Regions from separate parts of the Homo sapiens genome. Here region 2 is linked to region 1. Evidence: promoter capture Hi-C in 16 types of primary human blood cells and fetal thymus (Javierre and others, 2016). All regions are on one chromosome and are shown on one strand. The core of a region is centred on a gene start or on the middle of the fragment in contact, and the rest is flanking DNA. Distances in the headings are between cores, read along the strand shown. Region 1 holds the start of TBC1D7 (TBC1 domain family member 7). Region 2 has its middle 120 kb from the start of TMEM170B.

Evidence for each region. Contacts are between HindIII fragments. The CHiCAGO score rates a contact against its expected background, and 5 or more counts as called.
Region 2: a fragment that was not itself captured here is called in contact with the fragment with the promoter of TBC1D7 in region 1 in 1 of 17 cell types (total CD8 T cells); the score reaches 7.0 in total CD8 T cells.

The regions. Positions count from the first base shown.
Region 1 is chr6:13,326,115-13,331,271 of GRCh38, reverse strand. TBC1D7 (TBC1 domain family member 7) reads left to right here and starts at 2,735. Exons shown (of 8, transcript NM_016495.6): 1 at 2,735-2,976; 2 at 4,366-4,485. The coding sequence starts at 4,374. TBC1D7-LOC100130357 (TBC1D7-LOC100130357 readthrough) reads left to right here and starts at 2,735. Exons shown (of 9, transcript NM_001318809.2): 1 at 2,735-2,816; 2 at 4,366-4,485. The coding sequence starts at 4,374. It overlaps LOC124901261 (a long non-coding RNA gene), which reads right to left and starts at 2,657. Exons shown (of 2, transcript XR_007059457.1): 1 at 2,374-2,657; 2 at 1,415-1,547. RefSeq lists an enhancer at 2,390-2,896 and a silencer at 2,530-2,919. The HindIII fragment of the contact is 4,199 bases long and covers 1,871-5,157 here.
Region 2 is chr6:11,653,204-11,658,167 of GRCh38, reverse strand. No RefSeq gene overlaps it. Among named protein-coding and RNA genes, the nearest start is that of TMEM170B, 120 kb to the right of the region's middle. RefSeq lists a silencer at 2,325-2,494. The HindIII fragment of the contact is 867 bases long and covers 2,156-3,022 here.

The DNA.
Region 1 (5,157 bases), core at 1,486-3,985:
CTCAAAAAAAAAAAAAAAAAAAAAATGGGATCATTGCTGTGAAAGAAGGAAAAGGTAGAACTGCATACAGGGGATTGGGATTCAGGTAAAGTGTTGCAATTTTAGGTAGGGTGGGGAAAGTAGCCTCAGGGAGGGGACATTTGATTGAGACTGAGGTAAGTGAGTGGGCCATGTGGCTAGCAGAGGATAATGTGTTTCAGGCAGAGGGAACATGAGAAGGTCCCAAGGCAGGGGAGTCACTCATAGTAGCTGAGACTGAGGTACAAGGAGGTAGACCATGAGAAGTGTTGTAAGCTGTTGTGAGCACTTCAGTTTTTCCTTTGAGAGAAATGGGGAGCCACTGAAGGATTTTTTGCAGAGGGATATTTTTAGATTCATTCTGGCTGCAGAGTTGACAAAAGTCTCAAAGTGTTATCTCTTAGGGAAGCTTCCACATATTCTGTTATCAGCTCATCAAAAAACAGAATGGAGGGCAGTTGAAGGCACCCATATTGCTGTCACCATTCAGTGAACAGCAGTCTTGAAAATTGATTGTATGAATTGGAGTAATCTTCATACCCAGCTAAATTAGAGTCCAGAGATGAGGGAGAAGAGAAAGCAGTTGGGGCACAAAGTGCCTGCCCAGGAATTATATTGAAAGCCAGCTGCCAAGGTGACCTGCTATAACCTGAAGACCAGTTTCACCCAGTAGCTGCTGAAACGAATTGCTGTAACTCTAAGACTAGTTTTACTTACCACCTTCTCTCACAAATTAGAGCTTGCCTGTTCCTAAAAACTTTGCTTAGGGTCAATGAGCTATCTTTCAAGGTAATACATAACATTTCTCTAATGAAACCTCCAACCATCTCTTTGTTGTTCTGAAGACCACCCCAGTCTGTGTGTATGCCCTGAACTGCAATTCTGTTTTCCCAAATAAAATGATTTAGAGACTCATCTTTGCATTTTTAATTGATCTTGACACAGCCAATTCACATATATCCCTACTGTGCCACATGCCAGGCACCATGCCAAGCACTTTACATACTTTCTCATTTAACCCTTCCCACCTTCTATATAATCACCATTGGTGATGATTTTATTTTATTATTAATATTTTTTGAAATGGAATTTCTCTCGTTGCCCAGGCTGGAGTGCGGCGGCACCATCTCAGCTCACTGCAACCTCTGCCTTCCGGGTTCAAGCGATTCTCCTGCCTCAGCCTCCAGAGTAGCTGGGATTACAGGTGTGTGCCATCACACCCAGCTAATTTTGTATTTTTACTAGAGACAGGGTTTCACCATGTTGGCCAGGCTGGTCTCGAACTCCTGACCTCAGGTGATCCGCCTGCCTCGGCTTCCCAAAGTGTTGGGATCATAGGCATGAGCCACGGCGCCCAGCCAGCACCGATCACTTTTTAACACACTACATCATTGACTTATTTATTTTAGTTTTTATTGGATCTGTCCTCCCACCAGAATGTCAGTTTCACAAGGTTAGGGATCTTTGCTTCGGTAGCTGATGTATCCTGAGTCCATAGAACAGCGCCTGCACACAGTAAGTGCCCAGCCCTGGTGATGATTTTAAAGACAAGAAAAGGCAATTATAAAAGTTAGTGACCGGCCCAAGGTTTAGATGAAGTAAATGGAACTTGTGTAAGGTAACTTGAAGAACTCTGCTTACTCATGTGAACACTACCCAAGGAAGGTTTAGTACCCCAGTACTGAGGAACTAAAGATGGTGGTGGTAAGGGAGTGGGGAGGGGCATCAGTGTTTGAGTTCAACCACCACACGTTTCTTCATTTTTAAGTTCTGTCTAGCCATTATACACACATTTGTCTGCACTATAACTGGACTTCTGCACTGTTGATAGTCCTAAGTTTCCTTCAAAGCTTGGCATCCGTGTGGCTTATTTGGTAGAGATTTGAACTTTCAAAGGGACGATACCCATCATTGGGGATTTCTCTCAAACCCTGGCGGTTTAAAAACCTACTTGGGCACTGCTGCTCAGCCAGCCCGAGGACCAGGGAGGCAAGCACAGAAATAGAAAGCATTTGTAAGTGTTAGTAGCTACTTTAAAGAGTAACTCTGTTCTGTTAGACCTACTAATAACAAATTAGGAGCTTGCATTTAGCACATCTTTTTTTAAAAAAAAAACACGTTCATTTTTCTCCTATGTTATAGTGTTTTACCTGAGAGGCTGAATATACTAAGACAATGGCCAAATCTAATATAAAAATAGACCTCCAATCCACAACCTGCAGCAACCTGCCCAGAAAACCAGTCAGTTACCTACAATAACCAACCCAGGGAGCCTGCCTGCTCTAAATCAGACTTGCACTCCTCTGCCTGCCTTTTTTCTTCTCATTCGGATGGTCTTCATCTATTCCCACATACCTGGGGTGGGGAGGAAATTAGCAAAAGCAAAACCCGGGTCCTGCACGCAGGCAGCTTAAGTACGGCCCTAGGGCTCGGGTCTTCCCTAGGCAAGAACCTCGAGGGCCGGACACGGGAGTGCAACCCAGGCACGCGCCTTCGGATGGCCAGAGTAAATGGTCGCGAGATTTTGCGGGGTAGCAAGGGGCCGGGTGCCCACGGCGGGAGAAACTACACTACTCTGGAGGCGAGCCTAGCCCTTCATCCCGTCGGGTTTCACAAACGAAGCCAGAGCTTCCTGGAGTGAGGGTGGAGCTTCCTGCCCGCGCCCTCTGCGCATGCGCCCGCCCGGCGCCCGCCCGGCGACCTGGAGTTGATGTCACGTCCGGCGGCGGCGGCAGCGGCAGCGGCAGCGGCGCTGAGTTTTGTCTCCCGGGCCGTCTGGGCGCGCGCGGGTGTCCCAGGTACCCCGCCGCCTCCCTCCTTCCCGCAGGACTCGTCCCTCCTGGCCCTGGGCCCCAACGGTGCCCGCCTGCCCGGCGGTCGGTCAGCGCACAGGGCACGGCTTCCTCTGCTTCTCCCGGACCACTTAGTCTCAACCCGGGTGTGTTTGCACTACTAGAGGTGAAGCATCCATCATAGAGAGAATGGGACCTGGGGTCTTGGACCAGGGTGTTTTTACTTTTCCCATCAGGTGGACGCGCATGGGCAGGAGATATTATTTGCAGCATTTCCTCCTAGAGGACGCCTTTGTCATTGTAGTGCAATCTAAGAATGGGTGTCCTTAGACAACAGGGACCGACCAAATCGTCATGCAGCTGTTTGGATGCTTTAAAAAAATAAATCCCCACACTCATTACGCGTTTTATGCTGCTGACTTTTTTATTTTTAAGACATCTGCTCCCGAAAGCTCAGAGCCCTTTAGCATTTCATTTTCTAAACGAATCCTAATCTTTCCTGTGACTGAATCGGTTCAGAGGATATCTTTTCAATAAGGAAGGAAGCCCTCCCCTGCTCACTGGGGACGTCGCAGGGTTTTTAAACCTAAAGATTTACTCTTTTGTGCACAGACGCTGGAAGCATTTGGGTGAGGCAGTGCAGTGCTTTTTGGGAAATGCATCAGATCTTTTCTGTTCTTGAAACGCCAAATCTAACTTGGTCTTTTTTTGGATGAATTACCGCCAGTATTATGAAGGTTACTGTGAAGGAACTTGAGACCACTGAACTTTTTGAGTTCTTGCGGTAGATTTTAAATCGTTTTTCCGTCTTCAACTCTGACTTTGGGATCACTGTCAATTGGCTACATTCTTTACCCTCTTCTAGTTATAATTTAATGCGATTTATTTGTTGTGGGTTTTGAATTTCGATAGCTACACTTAATAGAATTGTGTTTAAAAGAAAGATAAGTGAGGAACTCGTGGCTTTTTACTTTTATATAACTTAATTTTTCATTTTACAAAATGCCCATTTAAAAAAAAGTAGCTAAGCAAAAGAAAGGAAATTAAAATCATCTAGAATCCTACTATCTAAAGATAACCATTGCTAACATTTTGGAATAGAGTGTTAAGTTTTAAAATACATGAAATTTGTAAAAAACAAAAAATGAAATCATAGTGTATACTGTTTGAGTATAATTTGCTTGACGTATCTTGCCTGGCTTCCATTTCACTTATTTTTTTTCTTTGCGCATTTATAATAGCTACAGAATGTTCTATTGTGCTAGGCACTCATAGGTATAGTGGGAAACCTAGTGCATAAACCTTGTGCCATCTATTTTATCAGCTCAGAGAACTTTTAACTTATATCTTGGTTTTTAGCCAAGATGCATAGGTGAGATAGTTGCAGAACTGAGTTAAAGGAAAAATTTAATATTGGGTCCTATGCAAGGGTACATCATATTGAAAAGGTGGAGAACATCATTGAAAATTATTCTAATTCTTGACTCTTTGTTTCTAGACTCACTTTTCCCCTTCGTCTTTCTCTCCCTTTCTGTCTTTCTGTGTCTCCTCCAAGAATGAAATATGACTGAGGACTCTCAGAGAAACTTTCGTTCAGTATATTATGAGAAAGTGGGGTTTCGTGGAGTTGAAGAAAAGAAATCATTAGAAATTCTCCTAAAAGATGACCGTCTGGGTGAGTACTTTTAAAAATTAATCTCATTGGTTCTCAATCACTCCACATGTTCTGAAGTAAATATTTTCTTAAAAGACATCCAGAAGCATTGGTTACTTGCTGTATTTTTTAGTGATGTGGTGAAGCAGAATGGTGTATTTTGAGAAAAGATTTTTCAAATTTATATTTCACTGAGCGTCAGAAGTTTTTGAAAGGTTTCTTAAGAAAGTCAGTAGTATTTTTTTCTTTTATTGAACCCATATGTTTTCATGTATTATCTAGGTAAATTTGCTTCTGGGTAAATTTGCGATAACTCTGGTCATGATTTTCTTTTTTTTTTTTTTTGAGACCAAGTCTGACTCTGTTGCCCAGGCTGTAGTGCAGTGGTGTGATCTTGGCTCACAGCAACCTACACTTCCTGGGTTCAAGTGATTCTCCTGCCTCAGCCTCCCAGGTAGCTGGAATTACAGGCATGTGCCACCATGCCTGGCTATTTTTTGTATTTTTAGTAGAGACAGGATTTCACCATGTTGGCCAGGCTGGTCTCAAATTCCTGACCTCAAGTGATCCACCCACCTCGGCCTCCCAAAGTGCTGGGATTACAGGCAGGAGTCACCATGCCCAGCCCATGATTTTCTTTTATGGAAATACTAAGAGTGCATTGTATATTGACATTTTAGTTTGAGCCAGTCT
Region 2 (4,964 bases), core at 1,340-3,839, 1.7 Mb after region 1:
CTCACTTAATGCTCTATCCCTACCCCCACCCCTCACCTTTACACACTCATCTTCCACATCCCCAGACTTGTAACTAAAGTCAGACCCCAGCACTTACTAGGGGAGAAGGGAATTCAACCACCAAAAGACTTACAGGACTTAATTATATTGGCAAAGATGTGGGAATATGTGAGGAAAGGCATCCTGAAGGCTATTGGTCAAGAGGAAGGAACATCACTTTGATCAGGGTAAACGTGGGTGCACTGTGCACTCACCCACGATTCTGGATCTAGTGGTGTTAGCTGGGGCAGCTGAGAGTGGTTCTGATAGTTTACTTGCTGGCCCAAGAAGTCCAGGGCTCCATTGGAAGTACAGTCTAGGGAAAGTTGAGAAGCTAGAAACTGTAAGGTTCAATATAACAAAAGAACTCATAGGTGTCAAGAGAGGAATGTGGCTGTAGCCTTATAGGCAATCCCGTCATCAAAGCCTGGGATAGACACTGGTAAGGCAAACACCGGCATCTTTGAAAAGAGTGTAGAGGCTCTTCTCTGTGAGTTGGGAATAGTGGTGGAAGATGCTACCATCCAAAAGGACTGCTTGATACCAAGCATGTGGGAAGGGCCCGGGTGGAAAAGGACAAATAGGTACACTAGAATAGTAAGATAGAAATGGGTATAGTCATCTTACAAGACATTAGGGCTTACCAGAATGAACTGAACTGCAGGGATCTTAGGGTGTGGCCAGTTGATCGCAGGATTTCCGGCCTAACTTGGCGTGTAACTGAAAAAACTCCAGGTCTGGTGAATGGGGGCTGCTATTACATCAGAAACTTGGGGTCGTGTCTAAGACCGAGTCAGTTCCCAGACCCACATCCCCTCACTAAAGGGAAAATAGGGATGCTTAAGGCAGCACTTTCTGCTAAAATTGCCAAGTATGTTCTGTGACTTTTCCTCTCAGCCTTCCCCAGTGGTACTTGTGTCCATTTAAACAGGTTACTGTACTGGGGGAAAAATGCCCAAACTTTTCTCAAATATTTGGACACTGGCTCCAAGCCAACCATACCACAGACCACCTATCAAAGCAGGCGACTAGTAGAGATCTGGTAATTGATAGAGTTTTGGAGTGTGTGTGTGTGTGTGTGTGTGTGTGTGTGTTGACCTTTCTTCTCCCATTTGGCAGAGGAAAAGTATACCAAACACAGAGGAAAGTGGAGAACTCATGGTGAGCTTTTACTCCTGTAACTGCATCCATTCCTGCTTCGCTTACTGAGTTCCCTCCACACTTGCATCTCAAACGCTGAACTCAAACTTGTCATTCTCCCTCTCCTCCCATGGCCTTTGAATTTGCAATTCCCTGGCCTAAATCTTCCTCACCTCTTCCCATCCCTTTGCCTAATTACTTCCTCCTCATCCTTCAAATCTCAGCTCCAGGGTCCCTCGTTAGGGAACACTGCCTATTCCCATCACTCCACGAATCTAGGTCAACTTCATTAGCTCCACAACATCCAGGGACAGCAATCTTTGCCTTTAAAGCACCTCCCGCAGCTTGTTGATGCACATTCATGCGAGTGGCTTGACGAGTATCTGCTTCTTCCTCTAGACTAGAAGCAGCCCAAAGCTGGAACGTAGTTTTGGTTACCACTCTTCCCCTGGCTTCTAAATACGATGCCTGGCACAGTGAACACTCAATAAATATTCATCAAATGAATGGATGAATGAATAAATAAATGAATGCACACCTCTTTTACTTCAAAAAAAAAAACACTTCTTAAGAATTGAAATTTAGCAATAAATTGGCCAATGTTTTTCCTATCTTTAGCGTGCCAGCACTTTCTTCTGGAGACCATGAGCAGGGGCAGAAAGACATCATCCCCAGCAGCACTCACATCTGAAAGCAGGCGGGTGTCCCTCTGCAACAACCCCTGCTCAGTTAGATTGCTTTAGGATACCCTCTTTTCTAAACAGAACAAAATTTTAACCAGACCATAAAAGCTGGTTTGGGATCTGAAAGAATAAGATTGTGCAGCAAATGATAAAAGGAAAAACCCAGCCATGCCTCCCTGTTCTGCCTTTTGTTTGGGCATCCTGTGTCCTGCTAGGCCTAGAAGGGGGTTGATGGAACCGTTTGTTGGCTGAGAGACTGGATTTTAATTGTCCTGCAAAGCTCCAATAAAGCTTTGTTTCAAGTCTTGAATTTCATCCATGTTTCCCTTTTAACAAACTTCAAGGAAATAACTCACCCTGAACTGCCACAGTGTACTGCCAAAGCGCTAGCAAATAAGAAAGGCACATGCTTCCTGAATTTGGGTGAATGAACCGACAACACTCACTTTAAAGGGTTTTCTTTTTCTTTTTTTTTCCTTTTAACTAGGAGAGAGAATGCGGACCAGGCTTTCCCTCAGCAATTTTTCTAATGAAAACATTTGGTGCCACCTGGTGGCCAAATTTACACGGACGCCTCAGCCTTCGCAGAGTACAAATGTCTCCCGGTTGAACTGGATATTAAAAACCCTGGTGCTACTCGGGAGGCTGAGGCAGAGTGGCATGAACCCGGGAGGCGGAGCTTGCAGTGAGCCAAGATCACGCCACTGCACTCCAGCCTGGGTGACAAAGCGAGACTCCGTCTCAAAAAAAAAAAAAAAAAAAAAAAAAAAAAAAAAAAAACCCTAGTGCAACCAATTTGGTAAATTTCTAAGAATATAGAGAATTTAAATTTCTCCTTATTGAAGACAAAATTCCCCACCTGCGTTCCACCACGCCTCTTGGGGACAATTTGTTTTCCTGAACAGGTGGCTTTCTTTAAGTGAACATTTTCTCTAAGGTAATATGCTTCATGCAGAGTTCACTTTTGAGCTAAAAGAAGGGCAAGAAGTGCAAATAATTATTGTGGCATGAGAGAAGGAGAAGGAATTGCCCAGAAATCCTTTAGGCCCCTTCAGTGTCTACTGGCCTAGGATTCCAAAAAGGTTTGAGAATGTTTCTCATACTCATATTTGGCCCAAGCACACGGGTCCAGTGGGTCAACTTTCACTTTGAGAAAAGCTTCAAATTCCACATTCTTGGATAAAACATAAATAGAGCCCAGTTAGTCCCTCTCAGGCTTTTATGAACTAGAATCATATTTCTTAACCTATCATTCCTGAGTGTGAGAAAAACAAGAGGAATGATATGTAATGTCTTAACAAGCTGTGCTGGGATACCAATTTTAACTGGCCAATAGAACCAACGCAGATTATGTTTTAGAGAAATCTAATCCCTTATAAATCAGCTGTGTGTAAAAACCCTCACATAAACAAGTGATGTGTTGTGAGTAGCAAGGAGAAAAAAAAAATTCTCCTGGAAATGTGTAGGTCTATTAGCGGAGACAAGCGCTGCTCGCCTCGTGCTCCATACTCCGAAGGGCAATTCATGTTAAAGGCAGTAGTGGGCTGGCCCCCTTTATGCTGAACATAGGAAATACAGAAAAACATCTACGAGACTGAGCAAAGTGGTAGTATTTCGTGCACTGGCTGGCTCAGCACCAAAATTCAAATCAATACTCCAGAGAGAAGAGCCCCCAGAAACAGCCCAGCAAGAGCTTGGAGGGTTCAATGATCATTTAATTTAAGCCCCTCTTTTTACAGACAAATGAACACAGGCCCCCAAGAGTTTAGGTGATGTTCCCGTGGGCCCTTATCAAGTTAGAGCAGAGCCCAGGGAGAGAGAGAGTTGAGGTCCTCCGCTCTCTGCTTCTGCCTCCACACTCTGCTTGCTCTGACCAACGTCCTCCCACCGGCGATGCAGAACTTCAAAGGGATGGAAAAGGTGGCAAAGTCACCAGTGAATCTGTGTGATATACATAACTGATGACTTCCTCCTTTAAAAATTTTTTTGAGAGAGGGTCTTGTTCTGTTACCCAGGTTGGAGTGCAGTGACACAATCGTAACTTGAAATCCTGGGCTCAAGTGAGCCTTTTGCCTCAGCCTCCCGAGTAGCTGGGACTACAAGGAGCACACCTCCATGCCTGGCTAATTTGTTAAAATGTTTCTTTAGAGACGGTAGTCTCACTATTTTCCCCAGGATGGTCTTGAACCCCTGACCTCAGGTGATCCTCCCGCCTTGGCCTCTCAAAGTGGTGACTTCAGGTGTGAGCCACTGTGCCCAGCAGCTTCCTCCTTTACAGAAATAAATTAATGCAAAATAAAGGAGGAAGAGAGAAATGATAGCTAAGCAGAGAACATGCAACAAAGTCAATGCTAACATCCACGTGATTGAGCATCTACTGTATGGCAGGTGCTTCACATGCGTTATCTTGAATGGGTGAACATTCTCCAATACAGCAGGGTTCCATCCATTCCACAGGTGAGGCACCTCATGCTCAGGTGGGTAAATTGCCCACCACCGTGTGGTAATAAAAGGGCAGAACACACACATGAAATCAGGACACCCTGACTCCAAATCCTATCACTGTTTCATGTCTCCAGCTGCAGACAACTCTTATGTGAGCCCTGGATAGGAAAAGGAACAGAGTCATGGAAGGTCCACTTAAGTTCTCCTTCAAGCAGCTAAGGAGGTGCTGTCTCTAACAAGCCAAATTAAGATAGGCAAAGTCACCCCAGCAGCTGTTGACTTCAGCATTTGCTTTTAAAATGAGAATTATTGTCTCAGGGTGAAGACTCCGGTTCAAGCATGAGTCATGCACCCCAGCAGACCTGGTTTGTTTTTAGCGAAGTGTGGCCGGGGGAGGAGGGGTTGTATTCACCAGCAAAGCATGTCACAGAGGATGTACACACACACACACACACACACACACACACACACAGACACACAGACACACACACACACACGTCTGCCCATTACAGCTGCTCCAGGCATCTCTCGCCTGACAGAATAGGGTCTGTTTCTGACCCCCACACATCCTTAAAGAATGTGATCTTTGCAGAGATCACTAGCAGGAAATGACCCTGAGGAAAGCCACTTGATGTCATTCTTTGAATGTTCTGCTGT